Linked DNA regions of Homo sapiens: regions 1, 2, 3, 5 and 6 are each linked to region 4. Evidence: promoter capture Hi-C in 16 types of primary human blood cells and fetal thymus (Javierre and others, 2016). All regions are on one chromosome and are shown on one strand. The core of a region is centred on a gene start or on the middle of the fragment in contact, and the rest is flanking DNA. Distances in the headings are between cores, read along the strand shown. Region 1 overlaps ADAR (adenosine deaminase RNA specific). Region 2 overlaps CHRNB2 (cholinergic receptor nicotinic beta 2 subunit). Region 3 overlaps LOC124904427 (a long non-coding RNA gene). Region 4 holds the start of FLAD1 (flavin adenine dinucleotide synthetase 1). Region 5 holds the start of HCN3 (hyperpolarization activated cyclic nucleotide gated potassium channel 3). Region 6 overlaps SHE (Src homology 2 domain containing E).

The links. The method cuts DNA at HindIII sites, captures the fragments that hold promoters and counts their contacts. A CHiCAGO score of 5 or more calls a contact.
Region 1: a fragment that was not itself captured here is called in contact with the fragment with the promoter of FLAD1 in region 4 in 1 of 17 cell types (total B cells); the score reaches 5.2 in total B cells.
Region 2: a fragment that was not itself captured here is called in contact with the fragment with the promoter of FLAD1 in region 4 in 2 of 17 cell types (fetal thymus and endothelial precursors); the score reaches 5.8 in fetal thymus.
Region 3: a contact is called between a fragment that was not itself captured here and the fragment with the promoter of FLAD1 in region 4, in 1 of 17 cell types (fetal thymus). The highest score is 5.2, in fetal thymus.
Region 5: a contact is called between the fragment with the promoter of HCN3 here and the fragment with the promoter of FLAD1 in region 4, in 1 of 17 cell types (monocytes). The highest score is 5.6, in monocytes.
Region 6: a fragment that was not itself captured here is called in contact with the fragment with the promoter of FLAD1 in region 4 in 1 of 17 cell types (neutrophils); the score reaches 5.1 in neutrophils.

What each region holds. Positions count from the first base shown.
Region 1 is chr1:154,595,390-154,599,402 of GRCh38, reverse strand. It overlaps ADAR (adenosine deaminase RNA specific), which reads left to right. Exons shown (of 15, transcript NM_001111.5): 3 at 818-1,001; 4 at 1,427-1,575; 5 at 2,136-2,280; 6 at 2,408-2,598. Among named protein-coding and RNA genes, the nearest start is that of ADAR, 11 kb to the left of the region's middle. The HindIII fragment of the contact is 5,008 bases long and covers 158-4,013 here.
Region 2 is chr1:154,569,455-154,573,441 of GRCh38, reverse strand. It overlaps CHRNB2 (cholinergic receptor nicotinic beta 2 subunit), which reads right to left. Exons shown (of 6, transcript NM_000748.3): 2 at 3,835-3,980; 3 at 3,606-3,650; 4 at 3,075-3,184; 5 at 1,281-2,253. Among named protein-coding and RNA genes, the nearest start is that of CHRNB2, 3.7 kb to the right of the region's middle. The HindIII fragment of the contact is 3,612 bases long and covers 303-3,914 here.
Region 3 is chr1:154,628,471-154,632,663 of GRCh38, reverse strand. LOC124904427 (a long non-coding RNA gene) reads right to left here. Exons shown (of 2, transcript XR_007066635.1): 2 at 268-1,106. Among named protein-coding and RNA genes, the nearest start is that of ADAR, 22 kb to the right of the region's middle. The HindIII fragment of the contact is 4,396 bases long and covers 1-3,534 here.
Region 4 is chr1:154,982,026-154,986,273 of GRCh38, reverse strand. It overlaps FLAD1 (flavin adenine dinucleotide synthetase 1), which reads right to left and starts at 2,930. Exons shown (of 7, transcript NM_025207.5): 1 at 2,208-2,930. The coding sequence starts at 2,579. RefSeq lists enhancers at 1-662, 3,080-3,677 and a silencer at 3,018-3,197. The HindIII fragment of the contact is 2,398 bases long and covers 2,847-4,248 here.
Region 5 is chr1:155,276,005-155,280,431 of GRCh38, reverse strand. It overlaps HCN3 (hyperpolarization activated cyclic nucleotide gated potassium channel 3), which reads right to left and starts at 2,969. Exons shown (of 8, transcript NM_020897.3): 1 at 2,564-2,969. The coding sequence starts at 2,841. The HindIII fragment of the contact is 9,883 bases long and covers 1-3,851 here.
Region 6 is chr1:154,477,038-154,481,018 of GRCh38, reverse strand. It overlaps SHE (Src homology 2 domain containing E), which reads left to right. Exons shown (of 6, transcript NM_001010846.3): 6 at 1-1,538. Among named protein-coding and RNA genes, the nearest start is that of TDRD10, 23 kb to the left of the region's middle. The HindIII fragment of the contact is 5,610 bases long and covers 1-3,981 here.

The DNA of each region.
Region 1 (4,013 bases), core at 1,412-3,911, 390 kb after region 4:
GCAGTGGATTTTGTGGTTAGTCATTCTTTGGACTCACACTAAAAGAAACATTGGTGCCATGTTCAAATATATCAGAAGACCTAGGAAATAAGAAATTTGACCTACTTTTCTAAATGAAATCCCAGACTGAGCAAAGAGCTCACCACATTTGAAAGCTTGAACAAAGGGGGCCTAGGCTAAGTCCAGAGGCCTAGAACAAATGCTTTTTTATTTTCTACATAACAAGGGGAAATTCCTTGTTATGTAGAAAATAGCTGGAGACAAATGGTGCTATAGAGTGACTCATAACAAACTACGGTGATATAGGTCTAGGGACAAAAGCAGGCCACTGATAAGTGGCAGATGCCTGATCCCCCTAGGTAGTGGGGAGTGTGAGACTGGGTTATAAGAAGCCTTCACTATCTTTTAGGACCCTCCCTTGAGGAGGCCAGTCTACCACAATTGCTTTAGAATGAAGGTCTTTTGGTTGCTCACAAGACTATAATGGTAATTTTTGGCTCATCATTTTTGTGTGTGTGGGTTTTATCTTAATTCATTGTTAAAGAGATAGTGGGTTTCCCCTGAGCTAGTTTCCTATCATCTGTGCCTATGTTTGCTTCACTGAGCTATGGGGAAAGAGTCACTGGCTGCTTTGTTTACAAAAAGAAAGGACAGGCTGAGCCTTAAGGAGTAGGAAGGAGTTCCTTGGCCTACCCTTCATCTCCACAAGTGAAAAGCCCCTTAGCGTAGCAGAAAATTCCAGGTTGAAGGTCTCTTTGGAGAAGGCAGAAGGAGTGACCTAGACTCCTGTTCACACATCTAATCACTTTCCGTCAAGATTTAAATTCCAGGTTGTCATCAATGGCCGAGAGTTTCCCCCAGCTGAAGCTGGAAGCAAGAAAGTGGCCAAGCAGGATGCAGCTATGAAAGCCATGACAATTCTGCTAGAGGAAGCCAAAGCCAAGGACAGTGGAAAATCAGAAGAATCATCCCACTATTCCACAGAGAAAGAATCAGAGAAGGTAGGTGTCCTCCTGCCATCTGGGAGGATCAGTTCCCTGTCAGTGTCTGGATTGTAACTGACTCCCTTGAGGCAATCCCAGCCTAAACAACTGACACCATCTCGGAGTCAGCTTCCCACTCTTCCCTCTACCCTATCTCGCCAGCCCACCTTTCCTCCTCTCATACCCAGCTCCTCTGTCTGCTCCTGTCCCAACATAATTGGATTTACAGAATTTCGGACTTGAAAGAGACCTGAAAGTTTATTGAGGCCAATCTCCTCTCTTGGAAGATGCGGAATGAGAGCTCCAGCAGCCCCTTTAACTTTGGGAAGCCAACCCCTTGACAGGTGGTGGGAATAAAGTCCCCCATCCCCATCCCTTCTTCTGTGATGGACTAACCAGTGTTTTCTTAGTTTTGTTTTCTTCTTGTCTCTCATTTTCTCTAGACTGCAGAGTCCCAGACCCCCACCCCTTCAGCCACATCCTTCTTTTCTGGGAAGAGCCCCGTCACCACACTGCTTGAGTGTATGCACAAATTGGGGAACTCCTGCGAATTCCGTCTCCTGTCCAAAGAAGGCCCTGCCCATGAACCCAAGTATGTCCTACGTGTCCTCTGTCCAGCTGAGGTTTTCTCAGAAAGAAAAAGAGACACATTTTCTTCCTTGCCTCCTCAGGGATGGCAGATTGACCAATTTCTCCTGTTTCAAAATGGGGAAAGGAGGGCTCTGAGGTCCTGGTTGCTGCTTGTGAGGCAGACAATTAGGGATTAGGAATTCAAAGGGAATTCCTGGCCCACCCTCTATCTCCTCTATAAGCACTAGGGAGGTTCACGGCTTGGAGGTCACTCACTGTTGGTGGGACAGAAAGGTACAGGACCTGAGAAGCTCTCTGCCTGTGGGTCTATAGACTCACATGTTCAAGAGAAGTGTTCCTGGAAGAGGTGAAACTAGGTTGATGCTTAAATGTTGAAAGGGGTCAGCCAGGCTAAGAGACACTGGCTGTTCAAGGCAGAAGTGACTGCATGAGATGTGACTGCACAGAGGTGATGTGTTCAAGGAAATTACCAGTAGTGGAGGATGGCAGCCTGGCAGAGGCTAGGTCAGGCTCCTCAGTCAAAACCATTTTAATCCTTCTACGTGCTTCATCTCCTGTCAGGTTCCAATACTGTGTTGCAGTGGGAGCCCAAACTTTCCCCAGTGTGAGTGCTCCCAGCAAGAAAGTGGCAAAGCAGATGGCCGCAGAGGAAGCCATGAAGGCCCTGCATGGGGAGGCGACCAACTCCATGGCTTCTGATAACCAGGTAGGGCGTTTTCCTACTCAAAAGATACAGGTCATTTTTAGCAACTGAGTGGTTTAAGATTGCCAGTGACTCCCTCAACATTTCCTGAAGTGTTTATGGCTCCTCTGTTTGATGGATTCTCCTTTAGCCTGAAGGTATGATCTCAGAGTCACTTGATAACTTGGAATCCATGATGCCCAACAAGGTCAGGAAGATTGGCGAGCTCGTGAGATACCTGAACACCAACCCTGTGGGTGGCCTTTTGGAGTACGCCCGCTCCCATGGCTTTGCTGCTGAATTCAAGTTGGTCGACCAGTCCGGACCTCCTCACGAGCCCAAGTGAGTGTCCTAGTCCTGGCTAATGCATGTGTCACCAGTTGGGGATGGTCTGTAACCCAGGGAAAACAAGGGTGTGCTTTAGCTGTGTAGGACAGAAGGGGCGAGTTGAGGGAAACAAGTCCAGCCCTGTCTCCACGGCCTCTTAGAAGACAATAGACCTGCCAAGAGTGAATGCGTTCACTCTTCCAGTAAGCATGATCCTTTTTAATTTTTTGACTAGTTTTAATTTTTAAAGAAATGTATAGGTACATTAAAAAATCATTCAGGCCAGACATGGTGGCTCACGCCTGTAATCCCAGCACTTTGGGAAGTTGAGGCAGGTAGATTACCTGAGGTCGGGAGTTCAAGACCAGCCGGACCATATGAGGAAACCCTGTCTCTACTAAAAATACAAAAATTAGCTGGGCGTGGCAGCGGGTGCCTGTAATCCCAGCTACTCGGGAGGCAGACAGGAGAATTGATTGAAGCTGGGAGGCGGAGGTTGCAGTGAGCTGAGATCGCACCACTGCACTCCAGCCTGAGCAACAGAGCAAGACTCCATCTTGAAAAAAATCATTCAAGCTGATTGAAAAAGTAGTCATTTCAATGAAAAGTCTCATTTCCGTCTCAGACTTCTAGTTTCCCTCCCTAGACCCATATATTACTATAGCCCTGCATTAGCAACTGGGATGCGGTCTGAGAAGCATGGTTTTGTTGTTGTGAGAACATCAGTGTGTATTTACATAAACCTAGATGGCATGGGCTCCTACACACGTACAGGCTGTATGGTATGGCCGGTTGCTCCTAGGCTACAAACCTGTACAGCATGTAACTGTAGTGAATACTGTGGGCAGCTGCAACACACTGGTAAGTATTGGTGTCTATCTAAACAGCAAAAAGATACAGTAAAAAGACAGCATAAAGGATTAAAAAAATACTACACCTGTATAGGGCGCCTGCCATGAATGGAGCTTGCAGGACTAGAAGTTGCTGTGGGTGAGTCAGCCAGTGAGTGGAGAATGAATATGAGGGCCTAGGACATGACTGTACACTAATGTAGGCTTTGTAAACACTGTTCACTTAGGCTAACTACATTTATTTAAAATATTTTTCTTTAATAAATTAACCTTAGCTTACTGTAACTTTTTTACTTTATTTTTACTTTATTTTTTACTTTATTAACTTTTTTATTTTTTGTTCCTTTTGTAATAATACTTAGCTTAAAACACAAACATGTTGTACTGCTATCCAAAAATATTTCCTTTGTTTATATCCTTAATTCTATAGTCTTTTTTCTGTTTGTAAATTTTTTTATTTTTTTAACTTTTTAAACTTTTTTGTTGAAAGCTAAGATGAAAATACATTAGCTGTTAGCCTAGGCCTACACAGGGTCAGGATCCTCAGTATCACTGTCTTCCACCTCCACGTCTTGTCCC
Region 2 (3,987 bases), core at 859-3,358, 410 kb after region 4:
AAGTGAATGGTGATGCCGTGTACTAAAAACTGGTGGAGGAGCAAGTTGGTGGTTAGGATGTAGACCAAATACTCAGTTTTGAGCATGTTGAGTTTGAGGTGCCTGTGAAGCATCCAAGTAGGTCACCACATCCTCAGCACCTAGCTCGGTAAATGCACAATACATGCATGACTGCAGCAGGAGAGGTGGAGGCGGTAACCACAGCCTGCTGAGTCCCTGAATCCCAGCATCTCCCACTTGGCCTCAGCTGGCTCTAAGGTTCCCACCCCATCTCCTCTAGTGTATGCTCCCTGGTCCAAGCTTCAGCTCCAACCCATCTCCTGCTGTCCAGGGAAACAGATCTCTGAGGCCCACACCGCAGTGCCCTTCTTCATCCCCCAGCCAGAATGGCAGCTGTCCTAGAGGAAACCTGGCCAGTCACCATGGCAACAGCTGAGCCTCAGCCTGGAACCAGCCAGGTAGCCAGAGACTGACCACAGGGTGGGGCCGGCCCCTACCCAAAGTGCGGGGTCGGGGGGATGTCAGCCTATCATATCTCCCCCCAACTCTTGGCTCAGTCTCAAAGAAGCTCTCAGGGAACCCTGTAGAAGAAGCCAAAAGCCGGGTATGCAGAAAGCCTGAGGAAGGGGCCAAGGAGCCTTCCCCTTCACCCACCCCCATCTCCATAAATATTTCAGGAGGCCATCCCCTGGGACTCAGAAGAGCAGGGATATTGATTTAGGACTCCATGCTCTCCACCACAAGCAGGCTCCTGGAATCTCTAACCCCGCCACCAACGCCACCCCTCCCCCAATACACACCACTCCTACTGTCCTCAATGTTGCCCCCTCCTGCCTGTGTGGTGCACAAAAGACTCATCACTTGTGCTAAGAGCTGCAGGTTAACAACTTGGATGTGGGCATGCAAGCAGCGGGGGGTGGGGAGGGACTCTCGGGGTCACGGCCACAGGCTGGCTGCCAACCCTAAAGGGCCTCCTCGTGTTTCAGGCCTCCCTGCCCATATAACGATGCCCCAGCTCAGGCATTTTGCCCTGGGTGCTAGCCCTCAGGAAGCAGCAAGGTCATCTTCCACCGACTCCAATTTAGGCCGCACAATCTCCCGGAAGCCAACCCAGAAGGGCCCTAGCCAGCACCCAGGCCCGCAACACAGGCCTGACTCACATTTTCCTCCCCTACACTCCTACTACCTCTGCATGTCTATAGAACGCCGCTGCTTTCCAGATACCCGGGCCCTGGCAGACCCCATATCTCACGCCCGGGGTCCCAGCCTGCGGCACTCACGCTCTGGTCATCGTCCTCGCTCCGCATGTGGTCTGCGATGAAGCGCACGCCGTCCACCGCCTCCCGGAGGCCACAGCCACACGGCTCCCCTGAGCGCCCGGGGCCCGCCACTGGTGCAGGCTCAGCCCCGAAGGCCCCGGCCAACCCCTGCACCGACGCGCGGTTGACGAAGCACGTGCAGGAGTCGGCCCCTGGGGCTTCGCGGAAGAAGAGGGCTCCAGCGCCCTCGCGCTCACGCTGGCGTCGCCGCAGGCGCAGGCGCTGACGGGCGCAATGATGGCGTGGCTGCTGCATGAAGAGCAGCGCGGGCAGCTTCTCCAGGAAGACGACCTTCACCCAGGGCGCCATGGTGTGCGTGGTGGGCGAGCGGTGGTGCACGTTGAGCACGCACACGCTGGTGACGATGGAGAAGGTGACAAGCACCATGGTGAACATGAGGTACTTGCCGACGAGCGGCACGTCGAGGGAGGTGGGAGGCACGATCTTGGAGATGAGCAGCAGGAAGACCGTGAGCGCCAGCAGCACTGAGATGCACAACGTCATCTTCTCGCCACAGTCGGATGGCAGGTAGAAGACAAGGATGGCTAGCGAGGTGATGAGCACACAGGGGATGATGAGGTTGATGGTGTAGAAGAGCGGCTTGCGGCGAATGATGAAGTCATACGTGATGTCCACGTACGTAGAGTCGTCGGGGTTCTCGTTGCGCCGGCCCGGCAGCGCCACGATGTCCCACTCACCACTAGGTGTGAAGTCGTCCAGGCTGGCCACCTCACTCTTCAGCACCAAGTCGATCTCTGTGCGGTCGTAGGTCCACGAACGGAACTTCATGGTGCAGTTCTGCTGGTCAAATGGGAAGTGCTTTACTTCAATCTTGCATGCGCTCTTGTAGATGGCAGGCGGCAGCCAGAAGATGCTGCCATCATAGGAGACCACGGCATTGGAATAGAAGGACACCTCGTACATGCCGTCAGCACTGCCAAAGGATGGGCACAGTCAGCCCTGGCCTAAGCGTTCCTTCCTCCTTACCCATCAACCCAGCCCCTAATGGGAGGAGAGCAAAACCAGAGGGAGACATGGGGAGGGGACACCCAGATCTGAGAGTAACCATCCAGGAGTATAGAGAGGTGGAATTGAGCAAGAAGGGGATATGGGGAGGGGGGGGAAGGTTAGTGACCAGAAGAAGTGTCCTGGTCAGAAGGCCTGTGTGACACCTTGCAGGTAGAAGGGGGTGGTGGGTGGAGGAAGGGGACACATCTGCTACTTGTCACACATTGTATAAGCTGGTTGATCCTCATGAGGGTGGAGAAGTCAGGGGAGCCAGGAGGCCAGAGTGAGGAGCCCCAAGCAATGGAAGGGGACAGGGCATGGTCCCATCAGTTGAGGAAGGTGGCTTTGTACCCTAGAGATAAGATGGATTATTGCAGGAGACAGGATAGAACCTGGAGGAGAAACTGGGACCTTAAAGTTCTTTGATCCTTCCCAGGCTTCCAGGAAAGCCTGTTCCTGAATCAGTTGAGGCGCTGGGGGCTGTCAATACTTGTTTGTATCCCCACCACATCATCAAATACATACTGGGAGTCCTAACCGGCTGGGAGTGGGCTGGTCATTGCCCAGGTCACCTTGGCTGTCCACGCTGTACCTCACTGGTCTGGGTCTGTCTGTCTAGGTAGTGACTACATATCTATTATAAGTCCCTCCCCTCCCACAGCATAAGTAATTTCTCTTATTTTCCCCAGAACCCCTTCCCTCCCTGAGCCCTCCAATGGTCTCCCCCAACCTTCCCATTGCACCTACTTGTTGTACAGGACCACATCTGGGAGCCAGATGTGTTTGGAAGGGAGCCGAACTTTCTTCATGTTGTCAAACTCTTCAGGCTTCCAGGTGAGGCGATAATCTTCCCACTCCTGGGAAATGAGAGAGGGAGGCAGTACCAACTTGTGCCCTGGGTGGGGCTCAAGGTTAAGGAAACGAACTAGAGGGGGCCCATATGGCTTGAGGGACCTTTTAAAAGCCAGCCTCTTCCCCACAGTGACTTCTCTGCCCATCAGGTATGGCTCATGTGGTACTTTCTCATTTAATTTGCACAGCTAGGCCAAGGTACAGTATTAGAATCTACATTTACAAATGAGAAAATGAATCTTGGAGAGTTTAATATGTTTAAAGTCACAAGGCTGGTGAGTGCCAAGATTCAAATCCAATTGTTTAGGACTCCAAACTCTATACCTTTCTGCCTGTTTTGAGAGATTAAGAAAGAAAAAAGCACATGGGGAAAAAGGAGGAGAGAGAAGGCCAGGGGTGTGGGTGGAAGAGAGCACTTACGCTTACCTGGGTCAGCCAGACATTGGTGGTCATGATCTGCTCCCGCTCATGCTGCAGGGAGGAAGAGAGGCTGCCGAGAAGGCCCCTAAGCCTGTGGGGTCACTGCCACCACCCAGGGTCCCTCTCACACCTCCCCAAGCCTTGGAAACACCAGGGGAGGAAGCACACAAGCATTAACACATTTTGGCGGGGCTGATTTCAGTAGCTGGGCAGAGAGCCTGGGACCTCTACTCACCACACTGATGAGCTGGGCCAGTGACACCATAAGCTGTACTGTCACCAGCTCAGAGCCATTGGTGGCTGGGCGGATAAGCTTGTTGTAGCGGGAAGGATCCAGGAGATGCTCCACCAGCCGCTCCTCTGTATCCGTACCCCACACCCCTGGGCA
Region 3 (4,193 bases), core at 87-2,586, 350 kb after region 4:
TTAATAAACTAAACACACAACTTTAAGAAATAACAGAATAAACTCGAAGAAAATGGAAGGAAGGGGATAATTATAAGAGCAGAACTAGAGATAGAAACGAAATAGAAAACAGGGAGAATCAACAAGGACAAAGTTGGTTCTTTGAAAAATACCAACAAAATAAATAAACCTCTGCAATGATTTATCTAAGAAAAAATGATAAGAAGTTAAAGGCAAATAATTTTTATCAGTCAGTTTTCACTATAATATGCTTTGGTAACTACAAAATCCCAAATCTCTGTGTTTATTTCTTATTTGCTATATATGTTGACTCTGCTGGGCTCTCCTCCACATGTATTCTTCATTCTGGGGTCCCCAATCACGCACATGCCATTCTCATGGAAGAGAGAAAAGAGCAAGAAAGCTGGTAGAAACATGTACGATATCTTTTAAAGTTTCTGTTCATGTACGATGATCAAGCCCATTGACAGCTGGTTGGGTATGCATTCTTCTGTCACAAGAGTCACCTCAAGTCACATAGCATTAGGTAGAAATGTATAGTCCTCTTATAAGAAAAGGAACAAATATTTGGAGAGCAATAACACAGTCTACCACAAGTAATATTATAAATGAAAAAAGAGCTATAAATACAGCAGAGATTAAGAAGATAATACAATCAATAACTATGCCAATGAGCTTAAACCCTTAGATGACATGGAAAAAATTCTAGAACCTATTATTTTATTAAACTGACTCAAGGAGAAAGAAAATAATTGAACAGTTTCATAACTATTAAATAAACCAAAGTCGTATTTTACAAACTTCACACAAGGAAAATACCCAGCCGAGATGGTTTTGCTGTGCTGTTCTGTTCTGTTTTGTTTGGTTTTTGTTTTTTGGAGATGGAGTCTTGTTGCTCAGTCTGGTCTTGAATTCCTTGCCTCAAGTGATCCTCCTGCTTGAGCCTCTCAAGTAGTTGAGATTATAGGTGTAAGCCACTGCACCCAGCTCCAGACAGTTTTACTGGTGAATTCTACTGATGCTTGAAAGGAAAATCACTCCAATCTTATTAAAATTCTTCCAGAGGATACAAAAAAAGGGAATACTCCTTATGTCACTTTATGAGCCTTGAAACCCAAACAGATCAAGACAGAATGAGAAAGGAATATCACAAGTCCATGTTTTTCATAAACACAAACGCAAAAATCCTACATAGAATATAACATAGACATAGAATATATAGAGCACAATAGCATATAAAATTGAGACTTTATGGTCCAGTTGTTTATCCTAGGAATGCAAGGATAAGTAGTTTAATATAAAATCTATAAATGTCATCTACCATATTAACATATTAAAGGGAGAAAGAAATTGTGTGATGATTTCAATAGATGTAGAAATAAATTAAATTCAAATCCATTCAAGATTTTTAAATTTTATTCAACTAGGAATAAAAGGTACCTTCCTTAACCTGATAAAGGAGATTTACAAAACGCCTACAAAAATATCATTCTAAATGTTTTATCATAAAATATACAAAAATAATACTAAGTTTCCCTTTCGAATATCAAGAGCATCAAGAATGCCCACTATCACCATTTCCAATAACACTGTACTGGAACAATGCACTGCCTTCTCCCCCAAACCAGTGTAACACTTTTTTTTTTTTTTTGAGATGGAGTCTGGCTCTGTCGCCCAGGCTGGAGTGCAGTGGTGCAATCTCAGCTCACTGCAAGCTCTGCCTCCCGGGTTCACTCCATTCTCCTGCCTCAGCCTCCCAAGTAGCTGGGACTACAGGCACCCGCCACCACGCCCGGCTAAGTTTTTGTATTTTTAGTAGAGATAGGGTCTCACCATGTTAGCCAGGATGGTCTCAATCTCCTGACCTCATGATCTGCCCGCCTTGGCCTCCCAAAGTGCTGGGATTACAGGCATGAGCCACTGAGCCTGGCCAAACCAGTGTAACACTTTAAGATAGATAAAAAGCAATAAGGGTTGGGCGTAGGAAAGGGGGAAACTGGCATTATTTTCAGATAATGATTGTTTACATACAAAATCCAAAAGAATCAATAAATAAATTACTACAAACAAGAGTTTAGCATTGTGGCTGGATACAATATCAATGTACAAAAATCAAATTTATTTCTATATGATCATCAAAAAATTAGAAAGCATATTTTTAAAGGACATCACTTATAATAGCAACAAAAACTACAAAGAATCTAGGAATAAAATCCCCAAAAGATGTGCAAGATCTGGACAAAGAGAATAATAAATCCAAATTAAAGCATTAATGAAGACCTAATAAAAAGAAAGTTATCCCTTGCTTATGGAAGACTCAGAATCATAAAATGTCAATTCTCTCCAAATTTATATATTAGTTATTTATTATTCAATGCAATGCCAACAGGTTTTTGTTGTTGTTACTGCTGCGTGTGTGTGTGTGCAACTTGTTTGTGTGTGCAACTTGAGATGCTTGCCTTAAAATATGGGAAAACTAAAGACCAAGCATAGCCCAAAAAAAGAAGATGGATGAAGAATAAAAGGGAGATTTTGCACTACTAAATATCAAGACTTTTTATAAAGCTGTGGTAATTAAATAATGTGGTGTTGACATCAAGATAGACAAATTTTCCAGTGGAAGAGAATAGATAGATCAGAAATAGACCCATAAGTAACTGGAATGTTGATATATAACAAAGTTGGGAAAGGTGGGAAAGTTGGGAAAGGTGGGGCTAGTCAATAAACAAACCTGGGGAAAAATAAAGGTCATTTGTATGTAAAAAGTAAAATGGGATCCCTACCTCACACCATATACAAAAGTAAATTCCAGAGAGAATAAGGATTTAAAGATTTTTAGGAGTAAGAGTAAGTGAATAAATATTAGGGTACGGGGAAAAGAAAAACAGGATAAATATTAATAAATTCAAAGTTAAGAACATCTACCAAAATAGAAAATGAAAGGATACATATGGAAGGATAAATTTGCAACACATATAACTGATGAAGAATCAGTGCCCTAAGTTTGTGAATAATGTAGCAAACAATCCACTAAAACAATAATAAAAGACTCAAACTGACTGTTATATAAAGAGCCAAAGATGGCCTCTGTATCTGGGTCCCTGAGTTGTTTATTTCTTCACAGCAAGCTGGTATCTATTATCTCAAAAGCCTTTCAGCACCTAACTCAAATGTTTATACATCCAGGCATTTTAAATATAACACAACTAAGCAGATTTTTAGGCATTTAGAGCTGCTTGCCTGCTTTGTATACCTCATGAAACTGTGCCCAACATCTGTTAGTCATAGATAAGATAAATCTGTGGTTTATGAAGACTCCAATTTGCTGCTGCCCTTGGGAGCTTTCTGAAACAGAGACTTCCCACAGGCCGCTGAACAACATCACCTGGACATGGTAAGGCCACTCTCTTCTGGAAGTTTCCTTCTCTTTTCCCCTTTTGGATGGTTCCTCTCCACCCCCAATCTCTGGATCTTCTCATGCTGCCAAGGACTTCCCCTAAATACAAACCTGTCAAAGCTCACACAAATAAAGCTTGAGTGTGCTACTGTCACCTCCTGGTCATATATTTTTTCTTGCTCAGCCCTAAAAATCCCTCAAATGCCCTACACTGACATTTCACAGAAGAGAAACTACAGATGGACAATACATATTTAAAAGAGATGCTTAACCTCAATAAGGGCAGTTTGAGACCATGCATTAGCAAAAGCCAAGAAATCTGAGGTGTTAGAGAAGATGTGGATGCTGGTAGGAGTATAAACTGGTACAACCACTTTGGATAAAAATTTGGTACTATCATATAAAGTGGAATACTGGCATTCCAAAGTCCTATCAATTTTATTCCTAGGTAAATACACCCAAGAGACATTTTTGCACAGGGGCACCAGAAAGCAATGCTGATTTCCAACACTGTTGGAAAGAGCAAAAGACTGGAAATTGCACAAAGACTTGGCAGCTGGAGAATGGATAAATTATGGTACATAATGGATTTTTATGTAGCAGTGAAAATGAACAAAATGTAACTTCGGTCAATAAAGATGAGTAAAGAAAAATGTACCAGGCCCAGGCCTCTAGATGAGAGTTTGGAAATACACACAAAACTAAGAAAAGTAAAAATACATTGCTTAGTAATATATATAAATGTGAAAAGAAATTAAAGCAATATAATAGTTGTGTAAACACAAATTCAGGATGG
Region 4 (4,248 bases), core at 1,681-4,180:
CTGCACTCCAGCCTGGGTGACAGAGCGAGACTCCGTCTCAAAACAAACAAACAAAAACCCCACAAAAATTAGCCAGGCGTGGTGGCGGGTGCCTGTAATCTCAGCTACTCGGGAGACTGAGGTGAGATAATTGCCTGAACCTAGGAGGCAGAGGTTGCAGTGAGCTGAGATTGCGCCATTTGCGCTCCAGCGTGAGCAGCAGGAGCGAAACTCCGTCACACACACACACACACACACACACACACACACACACAGCCGGGCGCAGTGGCTCATGCCTCCCAGCACTTTGGGAGGCTGAAGCGGGTGGATCACCTGAGGTCAGGAGTTCGAGACCAGCCTGACCAACATGGAGAAACCCCGTCTCTACTAAAAATACAAAAATTAACCGGGCGTGGTGGCCCATGCTTGTAATCCCAGCTACTCGGGAAGCTGAGGCAGGAGAGTCGCTTGAACCCAGGAGGCGGAGGTTACGGTGAGCCAAGATCGAGCCATTGCACTCCAGCCTGGGCAACAAAAGTGAAACTCTGTCTCAAAAAAAAAAAAAAAAAAAAAAAAAATTGGGGTCAGGGCCAGGTGAGGTGGCTCACGCCTGTAATCCCAACATTTTGGGAGGCTGAGGTGGGTGGATCACTTGAGGTCAGGAGTTCGAGACCAGCCTGGCCAACATGGCGAAACCCCATCCGTCCCTACTAAAAATACAAAAATTAGCCAGGTGTGGTGGCACATGCCTGTAGTCCCAGCCACTTGGGAGGCTGAGACAGGAGAATTGCTTGAACCTGGGAGGTGGAGGTTGCAGTGAGCCAAAATTGATCACGCCACTGCACTCCAACCTGGGCAACAGAACAAGACTCTGTCTAAAAAAAAAAAAAGGGTCTATTAAGGCTGAGTGCAGTGGCTCATGCCTGTAATCCCAACTACTCGGGTGGCTGAGGCATGAGAACTGCTTGAACGCGAGAGGTGGAGGTGCAGTCAGCTGAGATCCCACCAATGCACTCCAGCCTGGGCAACAGAGTGAGACTATCTAAAAAAAAAAAACAAAAAAAACAAAAAAAACACAAATTTACAAAGAATATTAAAAAAGATTATTATTAAAACTTGACATTTGGCCAAGCTCAGTGGTTCATGCCTATAATCCCAGCAAGGTGTGGGAGGATTGCTTGAGCCCAGGAGTTTGAGACCAGCCTGGGCAACATAGTGAGACCGTTTCTGAAAAAAAAAAAAAAAAAAAAAAAAAAAAAAAAATTAGCCAGGTGTGGCGGCTAACACCTGTAGTCACAGCAACTCCAGATGCTGAGGCAGGAGGACTGCTTGAGCCTGGAAGATGGAGGCTTCAGTGAGCTGTGACTGTGCCACTGCACTCCAGCCTAGGTGACAGAGCAAAATCTTGTCTCAAAAACAAAAAAACCCGTGTCATCTGTTATGTCCTCTAGTAAGACTTTCCTGATCATTCGGAGGGGATTCATCCCTTCTAGTACCTTCCTTCTAGCTCACTTATCCACTACGCTGAGTACCTTGAGTCATTTCCAAAAAGGCTGGGTAAAACTCTTTTTTTTTTTTTTTTTTTTGAGACGGAGTTTCGCTCTTGTTGCCCAGGCTGGAGTGCAATGGCACGATCTCAGCTCACTGCAACCTCCGCCTCCCACGTTCAAGCAATTCTCCTGCCTCAGCCTGCCAAGTAGCTGGGATTACAGGCATGCACCACCACGCCTGGCTAATTTTGTATTTTTAGTAGAGATGGGGTTTCTCCATGTTGAGGCTGGTCTCGAACTCCTGAACTCGTGATCCACCCGCCTCGGCCTCCCAAAGTGCTGGGATTACATGCGTGAGCCACCGCACCCGGCCAAAACTCTTAAATATACAATACACACACCTGTACCTCCTCTACTCGAGGGGCTTCCTGTCATTGTTGTGTAGCTCCTCTGCCCTCTACCATACTGCTTGGTAAATTGCAATGACCTTTTTATTTTTCTTTTTTTCAATCAGCTCTCTCAGGTTGAAAAATTGTAGGGACTTTGCTACAAGTTTTTCAGTAGAGTAATTGAAAGAATGAGGGTTAATTTTCCTCCAATATGCTGGATTCACTCCAGGATCCTACTGCAGCAAAGAGGCTCCCACCCTGTTTCACCTCCTTCCATGGAGGGATGTGCAGCAGGCCCTTAAGGACAGGAGAACGCAGCGCCCTCCCCCCTTTTCTGTCCCAGACACACCTTAAGGATCTCATCTCCAACAATGATGATGCCAGCCGTCACGCTGCGCCCCGGAGAAAGTTCAGAGGCCCTAGATGTCATGGTCCTGCCTTCTCTGCCCCTCTGCAAGGCCCTCCAGTAGCCACCCAGACCCCCAAATAGGGGTCGCAAGCACGGGGGGCCTGCCAGGTCTACAGGGCACTGGGGGCCATAGCCTGGGAACAGGGGGTCCTGGGTCGAGGGAACCTGGAGAAGCCAGAAAAGACAATGGGGGAGAGCAGGCGTGCGCGTGCTTCCTTCGAGGAAGACCCTAGTCTTCTCTAACCAGATCCTTGACAAGCGACTCCTTTGTTCCTGCCTCTGGAATAAACGTGTTCCCAAATCCCAACCCATGTCCTTTTAAATGTCTTGCTTAGCTCTAGTCTTAAAAACTTCTTCTCTCTTGAGAACCTACCACTTTAAGTGTCTTCCGTTTGCTGAGCTGGTCTCCTCAAGTGTCTGCTCTACCTTGGGCATCCGTACCCCTTTAAATGTCTACCTTATCCTGGGCCTTGGCCCTTTTCAATGCATTCGCTCTCCACCCCGGACCAAAATCCCGTCTCTTTCTACTTCAGGCTTCTGCACCCTTTCTAGCCCAGAATCCCTTCTTCCCACCAAGCTTCAGATTACTGAGCCCTCTTAGACTCTCACCTGCCTGTTCTGCCCCTTCACCGGCTCTTTCCCTTGTTCCTTTCCTCATGTCCCGGGGCAGCTTCCGTACTTAAAGTCCCGCCTTGCACCTAGCTGACATTGAATGGTGATTTTGGCTGTCGCTTAGACTCTTCCAGGGTCCCATTGGTGTATTCAACTGTCGCTCTCAGGCTTTAGCCAGTGGATGGGAGCAGGGCCGGATTGTTATAGGCGACAACCACGTGGTCACTTCTCGCCCGGAAATACGGGGGCCGGACCTTAGCCCACGGTCGGGGGCGGGACCTCGGGAGTTTAGGGCGGGAAAGGAGCCGTAGTTAAAGGTGCTGTAAGGCCCTCGGGGAGTTTCTGGTGCTGGATTCAAATAATTGTTATGCATGTGTTGCTTTGTTTTGTTTTGTTTAATGGGTCAGTTAGCCATGGTTTAAGCTGTTTTCATTCACCGTGACTCTAACACTAGGCTAAGGGCTTTTACTGGAGTGAGAAAGCATCTTATTTATAGCAGAAGGAAGTTGGAGGGACACCGAGAAAGATTATTACCACTGTCTGTCGGATATGAAGACCCTGGAGTAGGTGAGCTTTTGATGTGTGGAACCTTAATTTATCTCTAGTATAGTAGACAAAACGAATTACTTAAATCTCTTTGACAAGAAAGAGTCCAAAAACCCTCTCTTCCTCCACCTTGCTCCAGATGGTGCTTAGTTCAAATGACCTTTCCCAGTAATTGGTCTTGTAGGTGCAAATGAGGCAGCGAATAGGGAGTGCCTTACATGTTTACTCTGGATCCTCACATCATCCGAGCTTACCCCCATTTCAGTTGCCTTTGTTCTAAAAGTACATCTTAAACTTTTTTCCAACAATAATCTGGGGATCTTTTCATATGCAGATTGATTCAGTAGGTTTGGGTGGGGCCTGAGATCTGCATTTAGCTAGTTCCCATGTGATGGTGATCCCACTGCTCTATGGACTACATTTTGAATGGTAAGGGCCCGAATTCATTCTTTGTTTTTTTGAGACGGAGTCTCCCTCTGTCACCCAGGCTGGAGTGCAGTGGCGCGATCTCGGCTCACTGCAAGCTCCGCCTCCCGGGTTCACGCCATTCTCCTGCCTCAGCCTCCCGAGTAGCTGGGACTACAGGCGCCCGCCACCATGCCCGGCTTTTTTTTAAAAATTTTTTTATTTTCATTTTTTTTTTAGTAGAGACGGGGTTTCACTGTGTTAGCCAGCATGGTCTCGATCTCCTGACCTCGTGATCCGCCCGCCTCGGCCTCCCAAAGTGCTGTGATTACAGGCGTGAGCCACCGCGCCGGGCCGAATTCATTCTTTGTAGGACTGGTAAACCACACCTTGCCAAATTTTACTCTTCAAAACCCTT
Region 5 (4,427 bases), core at 1,720-4,219, 290 kb before region 4:
CAGGTGTGGTGGCGCGCACCTGTAATCCCAATCCCAGATATTCAGGAGGCCAAGGCAGGAGAATTGCTTGAACCTGGGAGTGAAGGTTGCCGTGAGCTGAAACCGCTCCACTGCCCTCTAGCCTGGGCGAGAGTGAGACTCTGTCTCAAAATAAATAAATAAATAAAATAAATAAATAAATAAAAATTTGCCGGTGTGGTGGCTCACACCTGTAATCCCAGCACTTTGGGAGGCTGAGGTGGGTGGATCACGAGGTCAAGTGTTCGAGACCAGCCTGGACAAAATGGTGAAACCCCACGTCTACTAAAAATACAAAAATTAGCCAGGCGTGGTGGCATGCGCTTGTAATCTCAGCTACTCAGGAGGCTGATGCAGAAGAATCGCTTGAACCCGGGAGGCGGAGGTTGCAGTGAGCCAAAATTGTGCCATTGCACTCCAGCCTGGGCGACACAGTGAGACTCCTTCTCAAAATAAATAAACAAATATAAAAATAAATAAATAAATAAATAAAATTACTCTTCCATCTACATACATATCCCTACTATATATCATTTACCTCACCATTGCTAAATATTTTTAAGGTTAAAAAAAAAAGCTAAAGTATCCTGTGCTAATCTCACAGCATTGCTGAAAACATTTACATGGAGACAATAGATGTGACAGTGTGGTACAGGCACTAGTTGGTATTATGACTCACTCACTCTTTATCCCCAGATTTCTGAAAAGGCTGCTGCTTCCCCCATCTCCAGTTATCTGCCCATTCTAGTCTAGGACCTCATGCCCTCCCCAGCCTTCTCCACCCCATTCCTCTTCTCCAACACAGTTGGACCCACGGATCCTGTTCCTCTGCTGAGGTTTGCTCATCCATGTCTCAGGGTGGGGTGGTCTATCCTGCCTTCCTCTGAATTGAGCTTTCCAGGGATGCCCTTCCCCCTCCACAGAACCTCAAACAGGGCTGCACACACAGAGAAGCTCCACAGGAGATCATGAAGCAGCAAGGCTTGAGTTCTGCATACCTTTCCTCCTCTGGCCTCCCTGTGTCCACTGGGACTCTGGCTGAGCACAGGCAGAGGCATGGGCAGGGGTGAGTGACATTGCTGTGGCAGACACCGTGGAAAGAAGAGGTCAAGAGGGAACTGTGTGAAGCCCTCATTCAGAGAATGGCACAGGAAAATCTCAGGGACTCAGTTACCTATGGTGGTTTTAATTCTAGGACACACCTAATCCCAGTGTCAACTCAGGAGCTAGCCCCTTCTGACTCGGACTGCAAAATCAATTTTCAGCCCTGAAAGAAACTTCCTCAAGTCCGGGCCTCTGGGAAGCCCCTTAGACTGTATGTTTTCAATAAACAAAAACCCTCGGCCATTCTTCTTTTCTCTCCTCGGCTGCTGAGGAGGAATCCTGTATTGTGAGACACTAAGAGAGGGGAGGGAAAGAGGGTTCGCCTAGCCATGAAAGCATCTTCACAGCCTGACTCACAGGTGGGTCACAAGCCTGGCGGGTGATGTAGTATAGAGAATGGAGAAGCACAATCAGAGGGATACCAGGCTTCTGGGGATCCGTCTGCGAGTGAACTGAGGGAAGAGAGTGAGATCCACAGGAGACTAGAAAAGGCGCACTGGCTGGGTGGGAACGAGGCAGCAAAGACAGGAGTGAAAGGAACAATGGGAGGAAGAGAGACATAGAGGGAGTGTGTATATATGTGGATTCAAGATAATGTCTGGGTCTACAACTGTATTTCGAGGCTCCAGATTCACACCTCTTCCTCTCTGCTTCTTTAGTTCCCCAGGTTAGGTGCTTTGCACACATCCCTGCCTCATCCAAGAGCTGTCCTTCATTTCCCCCAAGGACAGGGCTGCTGTCTTCCCCTAGCGACCTTGATGTAGAGGTACACCCTGACGGAGACTGTGAAATGGCCCCACCCCCACCCTCTGTTCCTTCTCTGGGAGTCACCTGGGTGGTGGTCCTGCCCCTGCTTTGCCGCCTCAGTCACTCTGAGTCTCGGCCCCGCCCCGCCGCCCCCGCCTTCAGCACTAGGGACAGCGACCAGAGCTGAGGTCTGGACCCCCCGCCCCCTTCAGCGTCCCTATTTTTCCTGGTAGTCTGTCATGCTGAACTAGGCAGGTGCTAAGGAGCGGGTGTGGGGATGGGAGATGGCGGAGCTCGGCTTCTCCCTCAGACTGGCCCCGATACTTAGAATATAATTTCCTAGATCTCCAGCAAGCAGGACTGGAGGAGGCAGGGGTCCCAAACTCTGGTAGTTCCTTTGGTCCGGATGGGGTCCCGGGTTCCTGAAAGAGGAAATCCAGGTCTCTGGAGATCCCCTGATGTCTGCTTGCCCCTTCTGGTGCCCCCAGCCTGTCCAGGCACGGAGGACCTCCGGCAGGGGATACCCGCCCAGGAATTCCCAGGCTAGACTGGTGCAAGTGACTCTCCCGCCCCACCAAGGGACCCCGGGCTGGAAATGAAGTGACCGTGGAGGGTGGGGCGGGCCGGGTCCCGGTGTCGCTGCCCGCGAGGGTGGGATTGATGTACCCTGCCCTCCCCGCCAAGCCCCCAATACCGGAAGTCGCTGTAGGGGTGGATGATCCAGGCCCCCGCTGACTTCACCCGCTCCTGCTCGATTTCCACTGCTTTGTGGCTGCCGAACACCCGAAGGGAGAACTTGTTGACCGTAGGCTGGAGCAGCGTCCCAAGGTGCCTCCTCTTAGGCTCAGGCCCAGATTTGGGGATCGGACCTGAGGCCGCGGTCGCAGGCGGGGGAGCAACGGGAGGCACCGCCTCCAGTCCAGGGGTCGCCCCTTCGCTGGCCCCCGCCGCCGGCCGCTGCTCTGCCTCCATGGCGCCCACCCCGCTTACACGCTCGGCCTCCTAGAGCCCTCTGTGGCCATCAGGTACCCGCAACCCCTCCAGAGCAGGAGTCGGCGCAGCCCCGCGGGCTCTAGCGGAGGCGTCGTAGGCTCGGAATCGCCGGCGCGCGGGGCGGAGGGGGTGTGTGCTAGACTGGCGGGCGGCGGGCGGGCTGCGCGGCGCCCCCTGGCGAGGGCCGCGCCAAGACCGGGCGGGGCTGGGACGCCGGGATCCTGGAGGAACTCCGAGAGGGGCGTGGCTTAGCAAAGAAGGCGGGGAGCGCAGCCTGAGCCAGGGAGAGGGCGTGGCCTAGCGTTGGCCTTTCATCCACTGAGAACCAGGGAGGAGGAGCCCCCTGCAGTGGCGGGAAAATCGGACGCGGGTTTGTAGCTTGAAGGACTTGGGAGGGAGAGGGATTGGGGACCAATGGAAGAAGTGGAAATGGCTTTTGGGATTCTTCTCCACTCTCGCCCAGGGACTTCTGTCCTGCTCCCGTCTTCTCTCAACACTGTCCTAGGCATATTCTTGTCTTTTGGTCTCCTCCGAACTGCTTCCCCTAGTATTTAATTTCCTAATTCATTCTGTCAGCCTTCACCAAGTGCAACTCTGCCTGTCATTGAGTGGATGCTGAGGAAACAAAAATGAATACAAAAGTCCTAGTCTTAGCATCTCCATGTAGTAATGGAAAACAACACAAAACAAAACAAAAACAAAGGCCTAGCCATAAAGCCACTGCTCATCTGTGCCCAACGACAGACAGGTAAATTGCAGTGCTATGCGAAGTGCTACAAATTCCTAAATATCTCAAATTCTCCCCTTCATCTCCAATTCTTATTACCACTGCCTCATTTCAAGCCCTCAGCATTTTTTCACTTAAATTACTTCGGAAACCTCTAAAAGAGTCTTCAACCTCTTCCAGGCCAATTCTTCTTCCATTCCCTGCCAGTTACCTTCCTAAAATCCAACTATGGCTGTGTCACTTGCTTGAAGCCCATCAAGCTTTCCCATCTTCTACAGGGGTACATTTAAGCTGCTTAGCATGGTGTACCAGGCCCAAAAAATTTGGACCTAGTTTCAACAGTCTCTCTTCTGACAGTCCCTCTCTTGAAAGCCACAGCCCCAATCATGCTGAAAGACTTTGTGCTGCCTTGTCTCTATGCTTTTGCAAATATTTTCTCTGCCTGGTATTCTCCTCCAATTCACTTTCGAACAGTTGGTTCAGATCTTGCTTTCTCTAGGAAACCTAGGAACACATTTCCAACTCTCCTTTCCTCAGGTAGGGTCTATTCTAGAGCTTTTTTACAGCAGCCAGGGCACCACTGTTTTGAGCAACTCATGTCACAGGGCTACCATTATTATTATTATTTTAGAGATGAGGTCACACTATGTTGCCCAGGCTGGTTTTGAACTCAGAGCTCAAGTGATCTTCCTGCCTTGGCTTCCCAAAGTGCTAGGATTACAGGCATGAGCATGGTCTCATTATTTATTTACAGATTTTCTCTCCTGTTAGATTGTGAAACTCTGAGAAACAGGAACCTTGCACCTGGCATAATTCTGGACACATAGTGGACATTCAG
Region 6 (3,981 bases), core at 982-3,481, 500 kb after region 4:
GGATATTCTCTGGTGAGAAGAATGTCTTTCAGTGAATTTGCCTTGAATTTAGCATCCATAGAGCTGTGTCAGTGTTCTTCTTGATCACACCTTCTTTAAAAAAAATACTTGCTTGCGATGACTGGACAAGTTCAGTTGGTTAGTTTCAGGCCTATAAGAAGAGAGAGTAAAGGACCTTGCTATTTACTTTGATACCATAGTTGTATCTCAGGATGGCCTGCAAACCACTGGCCTTGTGTGTATTTAAGCTAGGAATAAAATAATGGAGAAGTGTTAATATGTATACAAAAAGGTAAATATTGATATATCTACTCTCTGTTGGGGGCAGAAGTGTCATTTTAAGTTATTCAAAGCACTTTCTTAAGCATTTTAGAAAGCCTTTATTCTTTGCTGTTGGAAGTCTCCGTACTTTGCAGAATTGGTATTTGTGTACTAGCCTCTGCCGCAGGATGGGGAGGTGGGCAGGTAGCTGATAGGGGCAGCCAGGAGTTTTTGAGGCAGGTGGTGGGAAATTGTCCTAATTTGTTAATTGGATTATGTAACTCTGTTACTAGTCTGTTATTGGCTGTTGTTACTGGATGCATCTTGATATTCAGAAGAATAACTGTGAGGCATTCTTCAGTTGCGGGTTAAGTGGGGTTAGTTTCTGTTCTGTCAGATGCCCTTTTTCAGTCAAAGGTTAGCCCCTTGTTTCTCCCTCCTTCCAGGGTTTAGGGAGTGCAGTGATGTCGATTTCATTTCCCTTCCCCGCACCCCTTGACACTCAGCAGGATTGCACTGAAACCCTTCACAGATCTCTCGTTCACTAGTTGTCTCCTATTTTTCCATAACTAGCACTAGTTTGGCCTTATGACCTGGTTAGAATCACTCTTCTGTATTCTCATTTCCAATTTTTGTGCCCCACTAACGTGGACTAGAGAAACTTGGCCTGCTGTGCAGTGGGCCTTCTGTTCAACTTACCCTCCACCGCTGACCCTGTGTGAAGAGAGATGGTGCGTTACTGCCATCTAATGGGAAAAGAGAAAACTGCAGTTGGGAAAAGCAGCTGTGCATTTAAGGGTAGGGCTTTCTGAAGGATTTCTGATACAGTCCAGAAAAGGGAAAATGATGACACAGCAGTTGCCATCTTGAAAAATGCCCTTTCCTGCGGAAAGGGTGTTTTGAAGTCTAATACAACTATCATCACAAGGTCCCTGGACTAAGGCTGGATCGTGTAATTTAGAATCTCAAATTGTATTTTAATTAATATGCTGGCAACAGAATCATTGAAACAGGCGTCTCATTTTGTCAAGTTCTTAGCCGTTCAGTTTGTCAGGGGCTTTAATATTTTAGATATCAACTAATACATAGTTTCAACTTTTAAAAATGTTTGAAGATTGTATGTAATATAGGTGTCTATCTATAGTGCCTTAGTAATTTAAATCAGAAATATTTTATAAAACTTCTGGTTGTTTTGCAGTAGCCAATATAGGCTTCATGCCCTCCTGAAGATAGTTTCCTCTGAAATGTAACTTTAAATAAACATTATTCCAAGAAAACTACAGTGGTTTTGCTTAATTCAGTTAGCTCTGAGAATCATCTTCCTTCAGAAAAATACTTCCCATGGTAAGAGCTACAGCAGAGTTTCATTTGCAGTCACCATTAATGAAATATAGAAACACCATGATGGAACATAACCAGCAGATTCTATCTTTTATTTACTCTGTTCACATTTAGAGTCCTTCTATTATGTTTTTCTTCCCAAGTAAAATAGTAATACAGTGATGTTTTACTGCCATTTCCTGGCCCATCTCTTCCTGAGTCGAAAGTTAGTGCACTGGTTCTCATCCCTCACTAGATAGAAGATTTGGGCTCTGCTTCTGTTTTTATCAGTTTGTTATTAATACAAATGTCCCATGCCATCTGTGGGATGCCCTAAGTCTGTTGCAAAGTTCAAAAACCTATTTTAAAAAAAAATTGTACCAGGTGATTTGGATACACAGCCAATGGTGGAGAAGCCCTGTTGGAAGCTCCTATTTGGAAATGCACAAATAAATTCACGTCAGGTCCTAGAAGGGCATACTGTTGAGTCTGCTATCAAAAAGTTTTCCCCTCCAAAATTCCTAACATGGTTTCAAGTTTTTAACTTCCATTAAACATTTATGTAAGTTGCCACCAGGTGGAACAAGTGCCTATTGTTTTAACCCATCTGTGTTTAAGAGAAGAGGAAGTTTGCATTAAGAAATGCTCCCGCCACCCACCACCCGAGCAATTAGAGTAATGGTTTTCAGAATTCAGATTGAACACGTGTTTACAAGCACCCAGGGTTTGAGTGTTGAATGTTGGATTCTGACCCTGTGAAAGGCCAAGATGTAAGTAGTGAGAATAGACTCTTTTTCCGCACCAGGTGTGCTGCTGAACAAATGCTTTTCATCATACAGCATCTCATTTAATCTGCCACAACTCAGCCAGGTGGGAACCTTGTTTTTCAGATAAAAACACGGGTGCTTAGAATGATGAAATAACTTGTCTTGGGTCAGTCATAGTAAGTGGTAGAGCCCAGATTGCGGCCCAGGTCTCACTCTAGAGTGTTTTTTTTTTTTTTTTTTTTGCACTTTTTATGATTTCATTTAAAAACAAAACATAGACTGAGTTGTCTGTTCATTTTCTTCGCTGCACAGCCTGGCCTTGGGAGTGGTGACTGATGGCCCACGGGGCTGCTCGCTCCACAGTGGCCTTGTGGTTCTGGAGGAAACATTGTGAGCAATCTCAGCTCAGTATAATTTGTTGCACATCAGCAGCGCTTCATTCCGGCTCCTTGACCTTGTAGACCAGGAACTTCTGGAAGCCACTGGGCAGGGTGTGCTTCATTATCTTGCTACTCCCATAACTGACGCTGGCAATACAGCAGAGTATCATTCAGCCTCAACAAGGAAGGGAATCCTGACACAGACCATTACGCTGAGTGAAACCCGTCAGTCACAAAAAGACAAATACTGTATGATTCCACTTACATGAGGTACCCAGAGTAGTCAAATTCATAGAAAGTAGAATGGTAGTTGCCAGGGGCTGGGGAAGGAGGAAATGGGGAGTTGTTTAATGAGTGCAGAGTTTTCTTTTCTTTTCTTTCTTTTTTTTTTTTTTTTTTTGAGACAGTGTCTTGCTCTGTCGCCCAGGCTGGAGTGCAGTGGTGCAATCTCAACTCACTGCAACCTCCACCTCCCAGGTTCCAGCAATTCTCCTGCCTCAGCCTCCCAAGTAGCTGGGACTACAGGCATGCGCCACAACACCCAGCTAATTTTTGTATTGTTAGTAGAAACGGGGTTTCACCATGTTGGCCAGGCTGGTCTCAAACTCCTGACCTCATGTGATCCACCAGCCTTGGCCTCCCAAAGTGCTGAGATTATAGGCATGACCCACCATTCCCAGCCCAGAGTTTCTGCATGAGATAATGAAAAGTCCTGGAGATTGGGTGCACAACAATATGAATGTAGTTAACACTGCTGAACTGCACACTTAGAAATGGTTAACATAGGCCAAGTGTAGTGGCTTATGCCTGTAATCCCAGGGCTTTGGGAGGCCAAAGTAGGCGGATCACTTGAGCGAAGGAGTTCGAGACCAGCCCGGGCAACGTGGTGAAACCCCATCTCTTATAAAAAAAATTAAAATAGGTGGTTAAGATGGTAAATTTTATGTTAATGCATTTCTTACCACACACACAAAAATGCCAGTCTATTATCTTACAATGGAAATGCATCTAGCAGACTGGACATTCAGGTCACCTGTGTGATCAATGTGCTCTCTACCCATAGAGGGGCACATGGACTCAGAGCAAGGGAAAAAGGAATTGGGTTTTCGGTATCCATCTCCACCTCCAGGACAATCCTCTGCTGGGTCTGGCAAGTTGTGTCCATGGGCCTAGGCAGCCTTTCCCCTGCTTGGGAGAGGCTCTGCCTGTAGAACTGGGTAGTGTGAAGTCCTGAAGGTCATTTAAGCTCTGAT